Linked DNA regions of Homo sapiens: region 2 is linked to region 1. The links are contacts of gene promoters, found by promoter capture Hi-C in blood cells and fetal thymus (Javierre and others, 2016). All regions are on one chromosome and are shown on one strand. The core of a region is centred on a gene start or on the middle of the fragment in contact, and the rest is flanking DNA. Distances in the headings are between cores, read along the strand shown. Region 1 holds the start of IKBKE (inhibitor of nuclear factor kappa B kinase subunit epsilon). Region 2 has its middle 12 kb from the start of FCAMR.

Region 1 (3,475 bases), core at 264-2,763:
GAAGACTAGGCTGGGTGCAGTGGCTCACGCCTGTAATCCCGGCACTTTGGGAGACTGAGGCAGGTGGATCAGGAGGTTGGGAGATCTAGACCAACCTGCTCAATCCACCTCACCAACCACACAGTGAAACCCCATCTCTACTAAAAATACAAAAAATTAGCCACTGGCTCACGCCTGTAATCCCGGCACTTTGGGAGGCTGAGGCAGGTGGATCAGGAGGTTGGGAGATCAAGTCCAACCTGTTCAATCCACCTCACCAACCACACAGTGAAACCCCATCTCTACTAAAAATACAAAAAGTTAGCCGGGCATGGTGGTGCATGCCTGTAGTCCCAGATACTTGGGAGGCTGAGGCAGAAGAATCACTTGAACCCAGGAGGTGGAGGTTGCAGTGAGCTAACATCATGCCACTGCACTCCAGCCTGGGTGACAGAGTGAGACTCCATCTCAAAAAAAAAAAGCAAGCTGGGAAGACTGGGTGGAACATGAGGATCTCAGGCACTCAGGCACATTCCTCCTGGTCCTGATGTGAGAAGTTGCAGCAACTCCTCCAGCTGGAGGTGTTATGGGGAGTTCTCTTTATCTGAGCACTAGGCAGTTCTCAGCTCTGCTCCTGTTCTAGTGTCACTGTGGGAGGGGTGGGGCTGGCGGAGGAAACCACCAGGTGTGGCCATGGGAAAGTCCCTCCAACATTCTATAGAAACATGGAATTTCCTGGTTTTAACCATTTCATATCCAACTGCCATCTCTGAGCTGACCAGAGCAGGACAGACCCCTCCAGCCTCCTAGGACATTTGATGTGGGGCATCGAGTCCTGGCTGGGAAGTTGGCACCTGGGTGCCAGCCCCAGCAGTCTCTGAAGAGCATGGGTAAATTACTGAAGTGTGTGGGCCTCCATGCCTTCAATGCCTTTCTGTAAAATGCTTTCCAAGCTCCCAAACAATTCCAAATATATCCATGTCATCCAATCAACCCACAGAGTAGCTGTTACTCTGCGGGTGAGTGAGCTGGCTGGGAGGGGCTGCATGCTGTGTGCTCAGGTCACACTGGAAGGCATCAGCTGGGTCCCCGCGCTTGCTCTCGGACCTCTGCAGGCCTCCTGGGAAGGTGACTCAGATCCAACTTCTAGGACTGGATCGGCATAGCTCCCACACTTCCTTGGGGTTCCTGGGTGTGGGAGCATGGACTTCCCAGGCAGCTTTCCACTTAGTTAACTTGCCCAACCTGCTCTGTTGACTCTGGGAAGAGCCCTGAACTTCCCTGCTCCAGTGAACTGTGGGAGATGCCAAAACAGCACCCAGCTGCCCATCAAGATTACCAGAAGGGCCCCAGTTCCTGGCTTCTCTGTGGCTCACACTCTGGTCCTATTGCCTACCCTTGGGAACTCAGAGCATCCTCTTTCTCTTTTCTGCTGAGCTGGTGGCTGCACCGAGTTGCCTCTGTCTCTTTAAGAGAGAAAGAGAGAGCGAGAGACGGAAATCAGGAAGTGCGAGAGAGCTGAGAGCCAGGACTCAGTGCTGAGCTTGGTGTCCCACCGCCACAAGGAGGCAGGGAAGAAACCCACTAGTCCCAGCTCCTGGGGTGGCACAGACATTGCAACTGGCCCTGCCTGTGGGTCCTAGGGGCCCTTGGCTACCAGGAGGCTAAGAACACTGCTCATGAATGACAGTGAGCCCTGAAAGCTCTGGGGGTGTCACCCAGTCCCACAAGCCTGCATCCCCTGCAGTGGAGATGGGGTGAGTGTGCAGCGTGCGGAGGGGGGTGGGGGTGGAATGAGGGGCCAGACAAGGGGCAGCTGCAGGGCAGCTCAGCCGGGTGCAGGGGTGTGGGCTTGTTGGCAGCGGTGCTCTCACATAGAGCGTTGTGTGTGGCATGGAGGTGAGCCACCACGGGCCAACCACAAGCCCTCCCTGGGCTCTGCTTACCAACACCCAAAGCCAGCGATCAGCACCCAGCGCCTGCCCTCACCTTTCCCGGGGTCTTTCTCCCTGGCCGGAGTCTCAGGAGTAGGAGACGCTGGGAAAGGCTCCCTGAACAGTTTGGGAATAGAGCTGGAAACCCCCAGCCCAGCCCTGTGGGGGAAGGTGACAAACAGGAAAGGGTTAAAGGGCTAGGGCCGGCGGCCTTTGATGGAGGCTGAGAAGCAACTGCACTGAGGGGCGCCTCTCATCCGCCCTCCTCTTTCCGGTGTAGCTCAGCTCCTGGACGTGCCACAGACAGAAAGCATAACATACACTCGCCAGGAAGAGCCTTTGCCTGACTCAGGGCAGCTCAGAGTGTGGGGTAAGTGCACTTGGCCACAGCAGAGCCCTGAGGAGGGAGGGGAGGGGAGAGGTGGGTGGGTGGTGTCTCACATGCTTCACTGTCCACTGCTCATTCATCCAACCACTGGCTGAGGGCCACTGAGCCCTTCTTTGCACCAGGTGCTTGGGGTGGTGGGGGGAGGATCTGCAGAGCGTGCAGAGTTAAGCCAGATGTGCCACAACCAGAGCTCCCGGGCACAGAATCCAGGGGCACACCGCTTGTCTGGGGGTCTGCGCTTTGCACCTCACTGCCTATTATCCCAGAGTCCTGAGCTGTTCCTTGCCCCAGTATCAGAGCCCTTGGCCTTGATTTCAGCCTGCTGTGCTCCAACCCCAGCCCCAGCCCCCAGACCTGCTGGCTGCCTCCAGCCTCAGCGGGGAAAACCAGACCCACTCATTCATGCTGAGCTACTGTGTTGTCTTCAGGAAGCCTCTCAGTACCTCAGTTGCTTCTGTGTAATGTCCGCTCCTACCTGATCTGAAACTAGGAGTTGACCACCGATCTCTTCAAGGGGCCTCTGGCTCAATGAAATGACATTATCAAGGATTTGCATTTTTAAAAAAGATTACACAGAGAAAAAGTTCAGAGCGAAGGAACATAGGATTCCAGGCATGGCAACCCTCAGTTTGAGAACCTGTAAGATGTTAGAACACGAAGATGCCTTTTCTAGTCTAGCGTTATTTAAAAGTATTTAAGTGGCCAGGCATGGTGGCTCACACCTGTAATCCCAGCAATTTTTTGGGGAAGCCCATGTGGCCGGATTGCCTGAGCTCAGGAGTTCAAGACCAGCCTGGGCAACATGGCAAAAACCCATCTCTACTAAAAATACAAAAGACAGCCAGGTGTGGTGGTGCACACCTATGGTCCTAAGCTCCTCAGGAGGCTGAGTTGGGAGGATTGCTTGAGCCCAGGGGGTGGAGGTTGCAGTGAGTCATGATTGTACCACTGCACCCCAGCCTGGATGACAGAGTGAGACCTTACGTCAAAATAAAAAAAAGAAAAAGGAAAAAGAAAGTATTTAAAGGATGGTGGCCCTTCTAATGCTTCTGTCCCCAGGTATCCCAAAAAGGCCAGCACTGGCCTTATTTTTCAAAGAGAAATTGAGTTTAACTTCTGAGGATACACTTTCTGGTACTAATTGCTTTAGGAGAACTAGGCTTTGGGGAAAAGA
Region 2 (3,475 bases), core at 339-2,838, 510 kb after region 1:
GCTGGCTGTCATGTTGTGAGCTGCTCAGTGGAGAGAGTCATGTGGCAAGGAATGGAGGGCAGCCTTTGGCCCACAGGCAGCAAGAAACTGAGGCTTTCAGTCTGGTCACCCACTAGGACCTGAATCCTACCAATCATCACGTGAACTTGGAAGTGGATTTTTCCCCAGTTGAGCTCTCAGATGCAAACCCAGACCTGGCTGACAACTTGACTGAAGGCTTGCAGAGGACCCAAAGCTGTGCCAGGACTGTTGACCAAAAGAAAGCAGGAGAGAAATGTGTGTTGTCCTAGGCTGCTGACTCTATGGTAATCTTGGTGTGCAGCAATAGATAAGTAATGCATGGGGTTCGGAAAGTGTGAGAGGGAAGCACATTGGTTTCCTAGGGCTGTCATAACTAAGCACTATAAACTGGGTGGCTTAAAACAGCAGAAATCTATTCTCACAGCTCTGGAGCTAGAAGTCTGAAATCAAGGTACTGGCAAGGCCATGGTTCCTCTGAAGCATCTAGGGGAGGATCCATCCTTGCCTCTTCCACCATCTGGTATCTCCAGGCATTCCTTGGCTTATGGCAACATCACTCCAGTCTCTGCCTCTGGCTTCACATGGCCATCTTCCCCGTGTGTCTCTGTCTTCTCCTTTTCTTATAAGGATATCATATGGGATTAAGGGCCTGCCGTACTCCATGTCACCTTATCTTAATTACATCTTCAATGATCCTATTTCCAAATAAGGTCATTCTGAGGGACTAGGGGTTAGGACTTCATCATATCTTTTTTGGCACATTTCAACCCATAACAAGAAAAAAAAAATAGAGAGAAGAGCTGACAATTGAAGAATCTTTCGGAAAACAAGCACCTTCTTGATGGGCCAGGTGAACATATCCATGCAGCCTGCACATTCAGCGCAAGGATGAGGGTCTTTGCAGGTGAGGATCTCAGAAACTGCAGGGAGCGGACCCTTCCCTTCTCTCCAGGAGCTGCTTGAAATTTGTGAACAAAAGCCTAACTTCACCAGCTGAGAGAATACCCATCCAGAGAATGGCTTTCCCCACAGCTGCCAAAAGGGTTGCGTGGCCTGCCTCATGGCAGGGGGTGGCCAGATGATCCTGTATTCTAAGTCCTTGCATTCTAAGGTACTCTCATTCCATAGTTTGGTGCTGTATTTGGAAGCCTGTCCTGGGTTAATGAATGGACCCTTTTCTCTGTCTCAGATACTGGAAGGGCCCAAAAGCTACAATACGTTTTCAACTATGGGCAGCTGCTGCCACCTTGTGCCAGAAAGACTCCATGGCTAGAGTGACCAGGGACCTCAGATCAGGACACTATGAAGGGGCACTTCTAATAATTGTTCTGGGGCAGCAGGTGTAAATCGGGATTGTCCCAGGGAAACATATGGTCACCCCTGGGGAATGCAAGGGAACAACAGGATTTGCAAGGATTTTCCCAAGAATAAATTTGAGTTTTCCAAAATGTTCTACTTTTCTACATTTACTCTCAGCATGAAGCTTCCTGTGTCACCTATGGTGGCCATCACACCTCATGCGAGGTTAACAATACGTGAAAGAGTTCTGAATTCCTCTGGCACAAAGAAGAATGAATTTCCAACTATGCCTACTAAGAGAAAAAAGTCTTTTTCTACATTGCTTTTGAACACAACGTACCCCAAACACATGTAAAGCTTTGTTCTGACTTTAAGGATGCATTTTAAATCAATAAAGGAACAAAAAGCCCAGAAAAGGCCTAACTCTCTCTCTCTCTTTGTGTGTGTGTGTGTGTTTGGTGCTTTCAAAATTGACATATTACTCAGATATGGAAAAATAAAAGTAAAATTTTTGTCTTATAATTGTTTAGTGTGGGTGCTAATTTCTGTTGGTAGCAGGGATGAGGTGATATTGCCAAGATATTTTAAATGTACCAATTAATAGAAAGTTAATCTCCATTGCTCAGATCTGTTTTAGGTAAAGCAGCTAATTCAAAGCTCAGACTCTAGACAGCTTGAAGGGATCTCTCCTACCCCTTCTCAAGATGGTGTCTGGGTGCAGTGGTATTGCTCAGATGTCCTTGATTCTCCCTACCCTCATTCTGAAATGCCCCTCATTCTTCTTGGTGATGAAGATGCCACTGGTTTGATCTGGTCCATGGGCATCATAGTGGCATCTGCCCCCCACTATGCATACACGCGGGTCCTTGCCATTGCCTCTGGTGACAAGAGCTCCATACTCTGAGCTTCCTTAGGAACTTGGGTCTTTTCTGCTCTCTCAGCTGTCATGCATCTCAGTGGGGTGCCGGAAAACTCTAGATTGCTTTCTCTCCAATATGCTGTTGTGTGTGGACCCTTGAAGTCTGCCCTCAGCATGTGCCTGTAATTGCTAGTTCCCCTTTCTTGGATCATGTTGGATGCAGCATCCCCTGCAGTGGAGGGTTTCTCCACAAAGTCTATGGTTTCCCCAAGCTCTGCCCAGTCTGTGAAGGACAGCAGCTCCTGAAGTTCTTAGACTGTCCCAAATTTATCTTGGGGGTGGTTTTATCCAAGATGCACCCTCCTGCCCTATAACACCTCTTGTTAATGTTCCATCCTGGGGTGAGAAAGGGAGCCAGAACATTTCAGGTCACCCTTTGCCCCTTTTTTCCCCCTCACCCACCCAGATCCTAATCCCAGCATTAGAAGGAACTTCTTCCTTCCTCAATGGTGAGGGCTTCACTAACATCATATTTCATGTTCTTCTCTGATCAATGGTCAATAATCTGTTCTATGATTAGTTCTCTAGCTAGCTGAAAATCCTCTCACTTTTTTTTTCAACATTCTCAAGATAGCCTAGAAAATGAAATAGGAGCTCCCCTATATTTGATGGTTCTCCCCTCCCCATGAAGCTCTGGATGCCATCAGTTCAACATTTGGGGGTCACAGGTTAATCAGAGCCTAGGATTTACCAGGTTAATATCTGAAAACATATTATTATTTTACAGTGAGAATTGCGTATTTGATAAATGTCATCAGATAGTATTAAAGGAAAAATAGTCTTAGCTAGCAATTTAGAAAATAAATTGCTCTGATTAGTTGCTAAAAAAATTCCAGATGGATTAAACAATTGAAGAAAAACCAAATTATTTTTAAAAACTAGCAGAAAATGGAAGTAAATATGTATCCTATCTCTAAAGGAGTAATTTTCTAAGTTTTAAAATCATATAAGAAAGAACATAGGAAAAGAGAAATTAAAATACTTTTTAAAAATTTGCCCCTCAACAATATATAAAAAGGAAAACAAAAGACTTGGAAAATATTTCCAGCACATATGAGTCAAGGAATGTTACATGGTTATATAACAGAAACTGTTATTCATTGCAGATTAAACTGATGCCTTAAGAAAGCAATTTGTCATCTGAGCGTGGTGGCTCACGCCTGTAATCCCAGCACTTTGGGAGACCCAAGCAGGTGGATCATGAGGTCAGGAGTTTGAGACCAGCCTGAACAACAT

What was found. The method cuts DNA at HindIII sites, captures the fragments that hold promoters and counts their contacts. A CHiCAGO score of 5 or more calls a contact.
Region 2: a fragment that was not itself captured here is called in contact with the fragment with the promoter of IKBKE in region 1 in 8 of 17 cell types (activated CD4 T cells, naive B cells, total B cells and 5 more); the score reaches 11.8 in activated CD4 T cells.

What each region holds. Positions count from the first base shown.
Region 1 is chr1:206,468,963-206,472,437 of GRCh38, forward strand. IKBKE (inhibitor of nuclear factor kappa B kinase subunit epsilon) reads left to right here and starts at 1,514. Exons shown (of 22, transcript NM_014002.4): 1 at 1,514-1,736; 2 at 2,194-2,283. RefSeq lists enhancers at 424-1,061, 581-890. The HindIII fragment of the contact is 16,341 bases long and covers 1-3,475 here.
Region 2 is chr1:206,981,040-206,984,514 of GRCh38, forward strand. No RefSeq gene overlaps it. Among named protein-coding and RNA genes, the nearest start is that of FCAMR, 12 kb to the left of the region's middle. The HindIII fragment of the contact is 173 bases long and covers 1,503-1,675 here.